Linked DNA regions of Homo sapiens: regions 1 and 3 are each linked to region 2. The links are contacts of gene promoters, found by promoter capture Hi-C in blood cells and fetal thymus (Javierre and others, 2016). All regions are on one chromosome and are shown on one strand. Each heading gives the region's core, a stretch centred on a gene start or on the middle of the fragment in contact. The rest is flanking DNA. Distances are from core to core; before and after follow the strand shown. Region 1 overlaps HMGN3-AS1 (HMGN3 antisense RNA 1). Region 2 holds the start of SLC17A5 (solute carrier family 17 member 5). Region 3 holds the start of TTK (TTK protein kinase).

Region 1 (5,017 bases), core at 269-2,768, 5.6 Mb after region 2:
GTGTATTGCTATCATTATTATTACCTTTTTAATGCTCCTATTACCACATCTTTAGCCAATGCATACCCTTTCAAATTAGTGCTTGTGTCCTTTTGACATGATCTTAATCATTTTTGATAGATTCCCTGTTCTTGGGCATTCAGTGAATGACAATAGTATACTGAAACGAATTAAGATAAAAACCAATTGCTTAGAGCTAGATAAAAATTTACAAGTTAATAATTTTATCATTAAAATAATATTTATAATGAAGATGTCTTTCAAGATATTAATTTGCCAAATACTTGATAGTTAAATAAAGAAAAAGTCAGTGAAAACATTTTTAGTAAGATATGTGTGAGAAGGATACTGAGTAGCACTTGCAATCTGGACTGGATGGCTATTTTTCTTCATGGAGATGGAAAGGTGCCACAACAAAGGTAGTGCTAAGGTGAATATTTCTCCTCTGTGATGAAAAATAACTCACAAAATTGGCTTCTTTGTTAATTTTTTTTCAAAACCAAACACTCAGATCATCAACAGCAAACAAAATTGTGAATGTTTTTACTGCACACAATAAAAATGCTACGATGAAATTGAAGCTTGCTTGTTGGATGAAGAAAGCTGATTGTGAGGACCTCGAGTTCTTGGAATCTTTAGTTCATTTACAAGTTATGAAAATAACAGCTTCGGTTGAAAAACAACAGCATTGCTTATCTTTCCTTTGATGTAGATTGCACCTGGCTGAGCACTACTCTAGGAAATGAAGTGTTCTCCCTTGTACCTTTAGTAGCCTTCAAGATCTGGGAAAGTCAGTGCAAACCTCTACTGGTGGCCCTGGAGGTAAGAAGAGTAGGCAAAGAGAATGATTTAGCAGGTAGCTAGAATTCTAGGTTAAGAGATAAAGACATCTGGGCAGAAATGAGGGTGTCACATAGAAGACAGTGAGGAGGTCAAGCTGGTAAGAAGTACAGACTCATTTGTTTATCAATATATTCCACTGAGCATTTCTACTACTTTGGAATATCAGCCTCTAAGACAGTAAAAGTAGGATGTATATACTATCTTAGCTAAGGTAGACCTGGATAAATTAACAGAGTTACTGACTGAGACAGAAAGAAAAAAAATAGTGAACAAACTTGTTTTCCAATTCCAGCTCCTCTCCTCTTTTGTCCTACTCAAAACTGTTGGAACTGTACACCTACTTCACATTTTTCAATCAGCAGGGCAAAACCATTTATAGTGTCATGACTATCATTAAGGAAAAGAAAGAGACAGAGACATTGACAGACACACACACGCAAACACACACACAGAGAGAGAGAGAGAGAGAGGGAGAAGGGAGAAGGGAAGGCTAAGAAAAGCAAAGAAAGGGCCAAGCATAGAAAATAGCAGAGTATATATGGTAAAGGTAAGTAATGTTTCATAAGATAATTGTTTCTATTTTCCATATGTGCTCATATAAACACATACACAACACAGATATGTATGTGTGTATGTTGGATTGTGACATGAAATATATTTTTAGTATGGTCTTGGTCAAAAAAATTGAATGCCACTGCTAATGAATGTTGTGGATCTTTGACATTCCGAAAAAAAAATGCTTAATATTAAAATTTTTTTTTTAGAGGTAAGATCTCATTCTGTTGCCCAGGCTGGCATGCAGTGGCACAATCATAGCTCACTGCACGTCAGACTGCTGGGCTGAAGAGATCCTCCTGCCTCAGCCTCCTGAGTAGTTATATAGGTGCAAGCCACCACACCAGGCTTGAGAGGAAGTTTTCAAGGGAAAGAATGACTTGCAGATCACCTCCTTCTTGAACTGTCCCTCTTTTCCTCTTTCAGGCAGACACAGGCAGGGTCCCTTAGGCTTTTGCTGTAAGTAATGACAAATTACTGGAGAAGTCAGATCCAGAATGTACATATTGTTGCTTTTGATAGTTGCAACTGTACACCTACTTTGCATTTTTCAGACAGCAGGGCAAAACAAATGATAGTCATGACTATCATTAAGGCAAAGAAAGAGACAGAGACATTGGCAGACAGACACACACACACACACACACACACACAGAGAGAGAGAGAGAGAGAGACAGACAGAGGGAGAAAGGAAGAAAGGGGAAAAGTGAAAATGATACTGTGTTGCTTCTGATAGTTTGTAATTCCAGATTAAGTTACTAATCTTCCATAAATAGGTCAAAAAATACACAGTGAAGAATTCAGGTGTGTAACAAAACAACATCAAAAACAACAAATAAGAGGTGGCAAAAGAATATTTTGTTTGTATTTTCCAGTCAAGTCTCTACTTTGATTGGGTGCTAACTTTTGAAGAGACCAAGGTTAGTTTTTACAAAGCAACAATAAGAGTCCAAGAACTAACGGTCCCAAATCAAATGAGCTGCCTGATATTAGTGCAGATCCCTAGGCCCCAGTCCCAAGGTATTGAATGGCTAGGCTTGGAAATCTGCATTTTCAAACAAGCTTTTCATGTGTTGCTTACACTATAATTCGGGGACTAGAGTATTTAATAGACTAGGCCCTTGCTCTCAACAAATATTTGCTGAATGCCGGTACTTGGATTCTGATGACAGGTATCTATAAAAGCCTGTGGAGTTCTCAACATACTTCCAGAGCAGGAGCGTAATTCTGTGGGTGAAACTCGCCCCACAGTCCTCACCTCATGCTTTTGCTCCATCTCAGTTTTGCTGGGCACAACCTGTTTATTTCACTTTCTTTCTCTTCTGTAGTTGCAAGGAACCTGAAGAGTGATTAAAAACTGCACACATCCAGATACCTAGAAAAGTGTCTTCTTCTTCCCAGGCAGCCCCTCTAGGCAGCTCCTTGGGCCCCTGGGAGATGAAAATCCCTGATCCCAAATCCTCAAAGGGAACTTACCTTGGCCAAAGCCCATAAGCCACACCCTTTCAAGGCTAAATGTCAATGATTGCATAAGCATACTTCACAACTGCATTAACAGCAAGAGGAACCAGGGCATTCTGTGACCTTCCAAGGAACCCACTCTTTGTTTTCCCAACCTTCAATCAAATTTAATATTTGTGCAGATTCTTTACCCCAGGTATGTTTTACACAGTTTTTCCACCCCTGGTACTTTTCAGGTTCAATCTCTGTGATATTTACCTCTCCTTCTTGCTCCTGCTGCTTAAACTCACAGGAGTGTGATTAATTTGCTCTTTTTAGCACCCAAATGACTATTTGGGAATGAATTAGATATGCTCAGTAGCTAGAACCAGGGATTGGGATACATTGGTTTAGCCATTCCTTTTTGTCAGATTGTTAGCATGGCTGGTGCCAAGAGCCATCCAGGCTCAAGGAGGTGAGAAAGTTAAGGGAAGGAAATCCCCAAAGTTCATGGTGAGGACACAGCAAAATAAGGACTCCATCCCATCCCCTTAGGTAAAAAGCCACAAGCTGCAAGGTGCCAAAGACCAATTAGTAGTTGTTGCAGAGCTCTCCGACTGAATTGCACATTCTTGTAAACTACTGTCAGTGCCAGTACACTCTCAAATGGGACCACACCCTTTTCTTTAAGCTAGTGATTTTGACTACCTATTTTTGGTGTCTTCTGCATTTCCTTCAAATCTCAGAATCCCTGGGAGCTTGTAAGGAACATTTAGTAACCCCATCCCCGTCGCTACCCTCAATGGTCCTGCCTTTCGGAGATATCATACCATTTTCCTTTTCTCAATGAAAGCAAGAAAATGCTGGTTTGGGGAAATGAGAGTCGAATGAATCATTCTGAAAAATACCATAAAGCAACTGGAGATGATTTTCAGGTTAGCTTGGTTAATAACTCTTGTAATTCTCAAGCACTAAGAAAGAGTTAGCCGATAAAATGAGTTTGGCCAGGTCAGAATGAATTCTAGCCACCAGGTCAGAATGAATTCTAGCCACAAGGCAATAAAGTTTTGCCCAGCAGTGGAAAACTAGCCTGCAAATGTGCCATAATCTTCAAGGCTGCTTATCTGCATAAGGCTTTTGTTGTTTTTAAAACACAGAATTGTGCTACTCCCACAAAAAAACTCTCATCCTTTTCTACCTTCTCATTCCCACTCCCACTTCTGCTGTCTGTAATCTTAAGCAAATGGGTTGTTTTTTTCTTTTTTTTTCTCCTAAATAATCCAATTTACCTCTTAACATGTCAAAAAAATTGTTTTAACCATTTTAAAAATAAATGTTTATCAAAAAGTTTGGAATTTGCAGTCATAGGCATGAATTCAAATCTCAAGCTATTGAGCTACCATCACATTACTTAACCTCTTTGAACCCTGGTTTCCTTATTATAAAATGAGAAAAAGAATGTCTATTCAAGGCAGATACCACTAGTTACCTGCCCAATATTCACACTAGCTTTCTTCCTACTAACAGAATTCTGATTTTGGCAATAGGCCTGGTCAAAACAAAACAAAACATAACAAAGCAATCTTTAGTTCCTCCAGCTCCCTGGCAGATAGAGGTTGCTATGTGACACCTCTGGGGCTAATGAAATACATGAACACACAGTCATAAGGTGATTGTGTAAGCAACACCAAATAACAGGACAAACCTAGCCGGGTAGCTAGCTGCCTTGTGCCTTTGTTCTTCCTCTCCTTCCATCCTGGAAGTTGCTAACAATGTCTGGAAGTAGAACAGCCATCTATGTCCAAAGAGAGAAGGGCCACAGTTCATGATGAAAGAGCAGAAAGGCAGGACTTGAGGTCTCTGCAGTGGCCCCAGATTGTCCAGCTGTAGTCTACTGTTAATGTTTGGAAAATAAACACCATGTTTGATCAAGGCACTTTAGGTGGATGTCTGTGATGTGCAGCTGAATACTATCCCTAACTGATACACTGTTTCATGGAACTGGTGTGAAAATTGAAGATGTTAAACCACCAAACTATGGGAATGTGCATATCCCTGAAGGATGATGCTTAACATATTTCATTTGAAGCATGTATATTATACTCCCCCTAAAATGATAAAAGAGAACACAGAAAATTTTTAACTTTTCCTGAATCCCTAAGGGCCTGATTATGAACAC
Region 2 (5,101 bases), core at 2,113-4,612:
GGCTGCAGTAAGACCTGTTTGAGCCACTGCATTCTAGCCTGGGCAACAGAGTGAGATCCTGAAAAAAAAAAAAAAGAAAATAAAGTGTTGGACTTTGATTGTAACCCAAGAAGAAAGCAAAATGGAGAGGGCTGAAAGTTTAGGAAAATATACACTAGAATATAAAAGTCTATAAGGGCAGGAGCTTTTGTTCTGTTTTGTTTACTTCTTTGTATCTCCAGTGTCTAGAGCCGTGTATGGGAGAATTAGCATGCTGACACAATTCTACTTTCTACACTTGTATTCTACTTATGGAATAGTCATGACGGTAATTAAGACAGACAGACTCATAATCCTATCAAATCTTCAGATCTACTAATTACCAATTTACAGTAAATCAGGAGGGCAGAAGATGTTAAAGGACAACATAAGGATATAAAATTGCAGGGAAAAGAAAAGGAGCGGGGCAGGGGAAACAGATTAAAAGAGACAAAAAACATTTCAATCATTTGGAAGGTATGGACATTATTGAGATCCTGATTTGAACACACTATAAAAAATTAGGACATAGGCCCGGCCCGGTGGCTCAGGCCTGTAATCCCAGCACTTTGGGAGGCCAAGGCGGGTGGATCACCTGAGGTCAGAAGTTAGAGACCAGCCTTGCCAACATGGTGAAACTCCGTCTCTACTAAAAATACAAAAATTAGCTGGGTGTGGTGGCGTAGGCCTGTAATCCCAGCTACTCGGGAGGCTGAGGCAGGAGAATCACTTGAACCGGGGAGGCTGAGGCTGCAGTGAGCCGAGATCGCACCACTGCACTCCAGCCTGGGCGACAGAGCAAAACTCCGTCTCAAAAAAAAAAAAAAAAAAAAAAAATCAGGACATAATTGAGGAAATATGAACACTGAGTATTTTGTAAGTATTATTATTATTTTATTATTATTATTTTTTGAGACGAAGTCTTGCTCTTGTCACCCAGGCTGGAGTGCAGGGGCGTGATCTCGGCTCACTGCAAGCTCCGCCTCCCAGGTTCACGCCATTCTCCTGCCTCAGCCTCCCGAATAGCTGGGACTACAGGCACCCGCCACCACACCCGGCTAATTTTTTGTATTTTTAGTAGGGACGGCGTTTCAGGCGTTTCACCTTGTTAGCCGGGATGGTCTCGGTCTGCTGACCTCAGGTGATCCGCCCGCCTCGGCCTCCCAAAGTGAGTAAGCATTATTTTTATTTGCTGTGATAATAGTACTGTAGTTATGTTAAAAAGAGTCCTTATCTTTTAGAGGTAAATAATTGAAATATTTACATATGAAATGACATGGTATCTGGGATTTGCTTCAAAATACACAGTATGTATGAGCATAAGGCAAGACTGGCCATGAATTGATAACTTTAATCTGGGTGCTGGTTACATGGGGGCTCATTATATACTTCTCTTAATTGCCATATATGCTCCTTCTCTATAAAACTTATCATATTCTAAATAGCAAAAACAGTATGTTACTATTATTTCCACTTCACTTGCTCTCCAGTGGGTATGTAAAGAGGGAAAATAAAAAAGGAAATGGTTGTAACAAACGTAGCCACCTAAAGCCAGGAAGGACAGGGCCAGTACCATAAGATCCATACACTCAACACATGAATCAAGTAGGGATTGTTTTTAAAAGGGATGCTATAAGCTACTTTTTTAAAAATCAACTTTATTGAAGTATAATTTACGTGATAAATGTATACATTTGTCCATCTCAATCTTTATTGAGATGTATAACTTTTCTATCCACATCTCTGCTAACATTTGGTATTATCAGCCTTTTGGATTTTAGCTATTCTAGTGGGTGTATAGTGCCTCGTTGTAATTTTAATCTGCATTTTCCTGAGAATAATGTTTAACATTTGTGCTAAATTTTGATTATACATATACATATTTTTCAATTGTAACAATGTAATAATCTCTGGCAAATATCTTTATTATAACTTTTATTTCTGTATTTCTATATTATTTTATGAGGAATATTATACAATTTGAACACTACAAGCCACAGAAAATGATCAGTTTATGGAACTAAGTCCGACTTCCAGGTAAAACGTAACTATGGTATGGTATTTACAGTTTGTGTTGACTAAAATAAGCTCCCGGCTGCCAGATGGAGCTATAAGGTTGCCACCTCTACTGCCACCATCTGGTAACATTAAAAACAAATAAAAATATAGAAACTATACAATTCTGGGTTAGCCAAAGTCAAATTTCCAACACAACTCTTTCTCACGCACAGATCTTTGAAACTATAGAATGCATTCAAACTGATTTGTTCTTTAGTTTTCGTTACTTTTAAATAAACTATATTACAAAAGTGTCAAATAGCAAAATATTTTAATTTTCTCAAATTCAGGGAAGATGCTTTATGACGTACCTGCTTTTCGATTTGTTCCAAGACCTTTGGCAAATTACTTTAGAACTCCATAGGTATCTTGAGGATAACTGAACCTTTTCCTAACTTAAATCATAGACTGCCAGACGGAAAAAAAATGTCCTCGATGTTTTTAGTCTCTTACTGCACAATGTCAAGATATCAGCTGGGTTATACAATAGTTGCCCTCTGCATACTCACAAATGTTAACTCCAGTCCTTTTTTGTCTTCCCTCCCCGCCTAAGAAGCTACCAGGTCACATGCTGGCGGATACGCAGTGGCGGAAACCTAGCGGTGACAGGGAAGGACAGCCCTCTGCCTACTGATCTGCAGGTTTCTCCTCCAGTTTGCTCTTACACCGGGGTCCTCCGCTCGGACCTTAGCCCATTCATTTGATGATTCTCTCCCAGTTCGTTCTTCCACTGGGTCCCTTGCTCAGCACTACCCAAAATAACCACCAGCTCAGCGCCGGCTGCACCGCCGCTCCCCCGCCCCCGCCCCCGCCCCCGCCCCCGCCCGGTGGGGCTGCACCTGCCGAGGCCCCGGCTCGGCTCCGCGATCACGGTCGCGGCCCCCGGGGTTCCCGAGGGGCTTCTGCGCACCGAGGCAGGCGGGACTGAGCGGCACTCTGAACGGGCTCCCCTCTTAATGTCCCCTCGCGCCTGAGCAGCTCCGGTCCCGCCGGCGCAGGGTGCGGGTACCCGGGCCATGCCGGCCCAGAGACCGCCGCCCCCGGTACCGCTGCCCACTCGAAGCCCCTGGACGACCCCGCCGCTTACCGGCTTCGGCCCGTGGGGCGCCCGGTAGAAGAGGCGTGCGGTCCGTGCTCTCCTCGCCATCGTTCCGGGCCAGGTCTCGAACCGGAGACCTCATGACGCCTACGTGAGCAGGTGTACTCGCCACCTGGCAGAGAAGGGAGCGCCGGCCCGACAGCCCGAAGCCCCCGGGCCGAGCTGGCTGGACCGGGCGGGGCGGGGGCGATGACACCGCCCCGCGGCCACGTCTAGTCCCCGCGGTCCCGCCCAGAGGCGGCCGCGCCGACTCCGCCCCCGCCGCCATCTTAGGTGTGGGCAACTCTGGCTTGGGTTGGACTAGGGAAGCGGAGTTCTGGGAGTTCTCGTAGGATTGGCGCAAAGTGAGCCCGCTCCGCCCGCCGGTCTACGCATGCCGGGGAGCCGGTGTTCGGACGACCGTCTCCCGCTCCTGCACCCCCTTGTAAAGTGCAGGGGCCACCCTGCCCGCAGCGAGGATGAGTGGGGGCTTGCGGGCGGGCAGTGGGGACTTGAATTGCACATAATTAAGGGGAGGGCTTCGACCGAACTAGGGAAGTGGGTGGTGTGCATTTCACAACTTGACATTCGCTTGTTAGCGGTCAGTTGCCATACTGTTAGCAACCTTTGTACGATCTACCTCGTGACTGTGGCGGCATATTTACCTCGTGACTGTGGCGGCATATTGTCCCTAAAATAGCTTTTTTTTTTTTTTTTTTTTCTCCCAGGCAGGGTCTTGCTCTGTTGCCCAAGCTGGAATGCAGTGGCGCAATCGCAGCTCACTGCAACCTCCAACTCCTGGACTCAAGCGATTCTCTTCAGCTCCCCCAAGTAGCTGGGACTACAGGAGCATGCCACCACATCTGGCTAATTTTGTTTCTACTTTTTATTTTTGTAGAGGCTTGGTCTTATTATATTGCCCAAGCTGGTTTCGAACTCCTGGGCTCAAGCAATCCTCCTCGGCCTCCCAAAGTGCTGGGATTACAGGCGTGAGCCACTGCTCCTGGTCCTAAAATAGCTTTTAGGCGGAAAAACAGCAATGGAAATTTGTTGAGTCCTATGATGTTGCTGGTTTTATAGGTAAAAGTAATCAACATAGGTAGTTTCATATGGTTCGACCTATGGAATCCTCTGATGTATGTGTGCATGCTTTATCTCCACGATAGAATTTGGATAGATTGTGCTAGCATTTGCGGACTCTGAAAGTGAAACTAGGAAAACCCAGCTTGCCTTGGCAGGGCAGATCTGGATCCGCCAATAAAGGCTGTCTCTGTGGAGGTAGAAAATAAGATGTAGATGCTCTCGGAGAGTTTGGTGTAGACAGGGAAGACCCACAAGCCACTAATTCAGTAAACCAGGTTAGAAGCTTAGTGAGGTTCACGTGAGAACAAAGGGGAGGGTCCTTTACCTAGAAGGGAGGGCGAGGATTTCTGTAGGCATCCCTACCTCCAGATCAGTAAATGCTAGAAAAGTTCTCAAGTTAAAGCAGCAAATCAAGCCTTGTTTCTGAGTTACTGAATTACCATGTAGATTTTTACACTCTCTAAGGGTTGTAGAAAAATGCAATTTTCAAACTGGATTATGCAGAGTCACCTGGCAAATCCTTTTAAAATGTAGATTCAGATTCAGCAGATCTGGTGTGATGGTTAATTTTATGTGTTAACTTGCTGGTTGTCTTTGGATGAGGTTAACACTAAAATCATTGAACTCTGGGTAAAGATGGCTGCCTTCCATAATCTGGGTGGGCTTCCTTCAATCAGTTGAAGGCCTATCTAGAATAAAAAATCCGACTCCCCCACTTCTCTTGCCCAAGCAAGGGAGACTTCTCCAGCAGAGTGTCCTCAGACTTCATCTGCACCACAGGTCCTCCTGGGTCTCCAGGCATGTGCACCATCATCTGTTTTGGGTCGAGTTGGCCAGCCTATATTGTGAAAGCCAAAACTTTAT
Region 3 (4,938 bases), core at 1,469-3,968, 6.4 Mb after region 2:
TCAGAAAATAAACAAGATAAATAAATAGGTCAAATAGGTAAAACTGTAGGATTTTACAGATCACCGCTGTCCAGTGGAAACACAATGTAAGCTATATATGTAATTTTCAATTTCCTACTAGCCATATTAAAGTATAAAAAGAAACAGGTGAAATTAAATTTTCATAAACTTTTTATTTTTGAATAATTTTTAATTTACAAAAAAATTCCAAGTGTATTAAATAGTACAGTGAATTGCTGTATACTGTTCATTGTTTTTCTGTTAAGATCTCGCATTACTGTGATGCATTTTTCAAAACCAAGAAACCAACATTAGTGCATTTTCATTAACTAAACCTCAGACTTTATTTGAATTTTACTAATTTTTCAATTAATGTCATCCTCCTGTTTCAGGATCCAGTTTATGATATCACAGTGCATTTAGTTGTCATGTCTTCTTAGTCTCCTCTGTGATGGGGTGGTATTAATTTTAATAATATATTTTATTTAACTCAATATAGCAAAAATATCATTTTAACCTGTAATTGATATTTTTAAAATTATCAATGTTTATTACTTTTTCTTATTCAGTCTTCAAAATCCAGAGTGTATTTTATACTTAACAGTACATCACATTTCATACTCAGACACTTTCACTGGAAATACTTCATCTGCATTTGGTTCTCACAAAATTTACAGTTGAAAAAGTAGGTTCATATACTTACATTGTTCCAAGTATACTTAAAAGTCTTCCAATAAATTCATGACTAATGCAAGTTTAGAAAAAAGAAAGCAAAAAAAATTACTTTAAATAGTTTAAAAATAATCCCATTAGATATCAGTTTTCAAATTTAAATATAAATTTAATTAATCAATTAAGGTTAATTGATTTAAAAATTCAGTTCCCAGTTGCACTAGACATACTCAAGTGCTCAATAGTCACAGACCATCACAAGGACTTTTGATTTTATTCCGAGCTAGAAAGGGAGCACTGAAGGGTTTTGAGCAAAGTAGTGACATAATCTGATTTAAGATGACTTTGCTATGTCAGAGAATAAATTGAGGTGAGGCAAGGGCAGAAGCAGGGAGACCAGCCAGGAGGCTACTGCAGGTAACATCAGTTAAGTGATGCAGATGCCTTGGACTGAAGTGGTGGCAGTGGAGGTGGGGAGAACTGGTAGGAGTCCAGGAATCTCTTGTGCCAGCCCTGACTCAATCTGCTTATGAGTTAGATAAGGGATCAGGGATGACACAAAGGTTTTGGGGCTAAAAAATTTAAGACAATGAATTTGTCTTTTATAGATTTTGTAAAAAAAACAGGTTTGGGTAGGAAGATCAGGGGCTTGGTTTTGGACATTTTGAGTTCAAGATGCGTATGAGACATGTAAGTGAAGATGTTAATAAGTAGGCAGTGGATATCTGAGTATGGAGTTGAGGAGAGCTCAGCTAATGATACACATTTGGGAGCCATCAACATATAGATGGTATTTAAAAATAGAAGACTGAAGGAGACCACCAAACGAGAGTACAGAAAGAAGTGTTAGGGTGAGGTCATCCAGCAACAGTATTTTAAGGAAAATGCAAGCTTTGTGATCAGGCCGCAAACAGATCAACGAGAATTGGAGGAATAATAAACTCTTTCCAGGCAGAAGCATTAGATGCAATGGTGCAAAGGTAAGTGATTAGCCAACCATGGTATAGCAAGTCATTTTGCTCTGCTGAAGCAGAAATACTAGCTAGCTGACACAGAAAGATGCATTAAGTGATTGAGAAGGGCTCTCACGCTAGCTGGGTGGCTATCCAGAGCTGGGAATGTGAGGGTTCTAAGGATAGCTTTGGAGTTAACAAGTGACAGCTGCAGTTAGTTTCCTATACATACACAAAACCAACCCGTCCTACCACAGAATATATGTCATAATGCTGGCACAACAGACACATCCCTTTTAGTTTTGCAGACGAGGAGTAACCGTTGCCCTGGACCACAAAGCCACTTAGCGGCAGAGCCTCGCACCCGCGAAGATTATTACTAGGGAGATGTTTTTACCCCTGAGGACACCTGAGCCCTTAAGTGGGGCAGGCTTCGAGGGAGGGGGGCCGATAAGGCGACTTCAGACAGGGCAATCACGATGGGCGCTTGAGTTCTGCGCAGAATTTTGACAAGGGGGAGGGTCTTGGCTTGAAGACAGAGCGTGGAGTCATTTAAGGATAATGGAAGGGCATAAGCAGAAGCTCAAGGATAAAAAGCACTGAAATTCTTGAGCTGGCGGCAGGGCTGAACGTAGCTCAGTGAAAGATCCTTTCTTGCCACATCCTCTCTAAGCCAGGCTGTGAGAACCGCGGGAAACGAAGGAGAAGGGTGGCGGTGGGGTCAGTAAAGGGCCGGCCCAAGGTGCATCTTTTAGGTCCTGATGCTAGGAGCAGCCGTCCCTGCCCCTATATTCCTCTCACTGGGTAGGTTTGCTCGGGAGTGGCTACCTCCCAGGCAAAAATTCGGCCTGGTTAAACTGGAAAGACCAGGAAAGCCCGCCCACGGGCGTCCGGGGAACGCCTGCAAAGTGCCAGCACCCTACCAACCCAGGCGCCGCACGGGTGGGGTCGCGGCCGCAGGCTCTTCCGGGGCGGGCCTAGCCTGACGCAGGAGGAGGGGCGGCCCCCGTCGCACAAGAACCAATCACGACTGTCGCTTCTACGTGGCTAGCATTGACCAATAGGAGACCGTAGTGATAGCGACGGGGAAATTCAAACGTGTTTGCGGAAAGGAGTTTGGGTTCCATCTTTTCATTTCCCCAGCGCAGCTTTCTGTAGGTAAGTTCTGTCTTACCGGTGCACCGGCGCACTGAGGAACAGCCGCAGCCGGTGTAGGGGCTCATTGTTAGCGCTGGTCGGTGAGGGGTGGGGCGAGGTGGGGGCAGCTCGGAGCCAGGTATGCGACGCGGCTAAACGAGCTGGAGGGGGAGGGGATGTCTCACTGCCTCAGCGGGTCTGGCCGGTGGGGTGATGCAGGAGGTTTTGTTGAGGAAGTAAGAAGTGGGTGTGGCCCACGCTGGAAAGAAGGGGTGGTGGGGTACCTGCGCACAAGATCGTTTTCCAAAGGACAGTCTCTCTTGTTTTGGGGGTTAGAACTGGGAAAGAAGCGGGTGGCCGTGATCTGACAGTTATCTTTCAAACCTGACTTAAGAGGTGGAGTGATACCTTGCTGCAACTTTATGACTTTTTTTCATTGTTAAACCTGAAGACGGGGCAGCATTGTTATCAGTGACACTGAGTTGGTGTTTGAGAGTCACAAAGATACGATTAACAATAAGACTGCAGACACTTTATTGAACAAACACCACCACCATGCAGATAAGCAAGTGCTCAGTACCAGTACAATAGTTTCTTAGTGTTAGATTAAGGTAGCAAATCGTGATTCTGCTAGATATGCACAAGAATAAATCTGCGGATTTCCTAATTATCAGTAAAGCCCCATCATGTTTATATTCTGCTTTGAAAGCACTTGCACTGGAAGATTTACTCAAGTAAAGCAGGCGAATAAAGGAATTGTTATTCCCATTGCCAAACGAATTCTTTATGTCTATGTCACTACCAGAATCCAAGCAATCTTTATGTGTATGTCGCTACCAAAATCCAAGCAAACACTCTATCATATTTTTTTTAAGTGACACTAAATTTGCAGATTTCTACAGTGTGACGTCATTGATGTTATATTGGGGGAAAAAGTATACTTGGCCTATGAAACCTTGGTGAATAAATTACAAAGATGTGTACCTTGTTGTTGTGCACTTACCTCCATTAATACTAGCCTAATAATAGCTGCATTTAGATGTGTTCACAAAACGAATGCTTTAGTCGTCTGGGTTCTAAAAAGCTAGTGCATTTTTTTCTTTGATGCTAGTTAAAGTAGGAGTTATGACTGTTCAGTTTTTTTCTTAGAAATGGAATCCGAGGATTTAAGTGGCAGAGAATTGACAATTGATTCCATAATGAACAAAGTGAGAGACATTAAAAATAAGTTTAAAAATGAAGACCTTACTGATGAACTAAGCTTGAATAAAATTTCTGCTGATACTACAGGTGAGTTTTTCTTTTCTTTTAAGTTAGTAACTGTTTGTTGGGTATCCTCTAAGGTAAAGATATAGTACTAATCACTTTATTTATAATTTACTCATGTGTTTATTGTCTTTCTCCTCCATTAGAATGCAGGCTACATGATGGCAGGGTTTTTGTCTGTTATATCCACAGAACTTTGAATGGTGTCTGGCACATGGTAGGTAGGCACTTAAACATTTATTGAACAATGATTAATGGGTGAAAATGCCCAGAGTTTAATACTCTAGCTCTTCTAAAAGTATTAGCTCAGAAGCCTGATTCTTTACTGTATTTCAAATGGTTGGTCATTTGAATGGTGACCTTTGGATAATTTTCTTACATCTATACTAACCTTTAAATAGATGAGGAATTGAAAATAAATGGAAGAACCTGTGATCTAATCATGGTGGCTGACTGTTCACTTTGAAAAAACCTAGAAAATGATAGTTTTAGTGTTAAGCAAAATCTTAATGGAGTATAATTGTGCTTAATTATGTCACTAACAAAGGTTGTACATCAAGGCAATTGAGTATTTTAAGTACTGAGGAAGATTCAAAGATGCTTAAAACCATAGTTTCTTTCTAGATGAGAATTTATATATTCACTATGCTACATTGTAATGCATGCTGGGCATCATAGGAATACTAGCATGATAAAACACAAATGTTTTATTTGTTGATTAGAGGAAGAATAGGGTACTCAGGCATGAGGAATGCATCTGCAAAGCCACAGATGGCAATGTGTGTTTTTTAGACATTTCACAGACTAATTTCTTAGGAAAGCAATAGGAGGTAAAAATAGAAAATTAAGGTCAGACCAAATTAAATTTAAAACGACAAAGCAAAGTTATGCATGCACTATATTTTAGTAG

Evidence for each region. The method cuts DNA at HindIII sites, captures the fragments that hold promoters and counts their contacts. A CHiCAGO score of 5 or more calls a contact.
Region 1: a fragment that was not itself captured here is called in contact with the fragment with the promoter of SLC17A5 in region 2 in 1 of 17 cell types (non-activated CD4 T cells); the score reaches 6.3 in non-activated CD4 T cells.
Region 3: the fragment with the promoter of TTK here is called in contact with the fragment with the promoter of SLC17A5 in region 2 in 4 of 17 cell types (non-activated CD4 T cells, naive CD8 T cells, fetal thymus and 1 more); the score reaches 14.5 in non-activated CD4 T cells.

Annotation. Positions count from the first base shown.
Region 1 is chr6:79,236,223-79,241,239 of GRCh38, forward strand. It overlaps HMGN3-AS1 (HMGN3 antisense RNA 1), which reads left to right. Exons shown (of 2, transcript NR_040671.1): 2 at 1-578. Among named protein-coding and RNA genes, the nearest start is that of HMGN3, 4.0 kb to the left of the region's middle. The HindIII fragment of the contact is 1,879 bases long and covers 580-2,458 here.
Region 2 is chr6:73,650,630-73,655,730 of GRCh38, forward strand. SLC17A5 (solute carrier family 17 member 5) reads right to left here and starts at 3,363. Exons shown (of 11, transcript NM_012434.5): 1 at 3,164-3,363. The coding sequence starts at 3,257. RefSeq lists a silencer at 2,809-3,478 and an enhancer at 4,478-4,567. The HindIII fragment of the contact is 4,556 bases long and covers 1-4,518 here.
Region 3 is chr6:80,001,931-80,006,868 of GRCh38, forward strand. It overlaps TTK (TTK protein kinase), which reads left to right and starts at 2,719. Exons shown (of 22, transcript NM_003318.5): 1 at 2,719-2,783; 2 at 3,912-4,052. The coding sequence starts at 3,914. RefSeq lists enhancers at 1,756-2,630, 2,201-2,320. The HindIII fragment of the contact is 2,460 bases long and covers 1,562-4,021 here.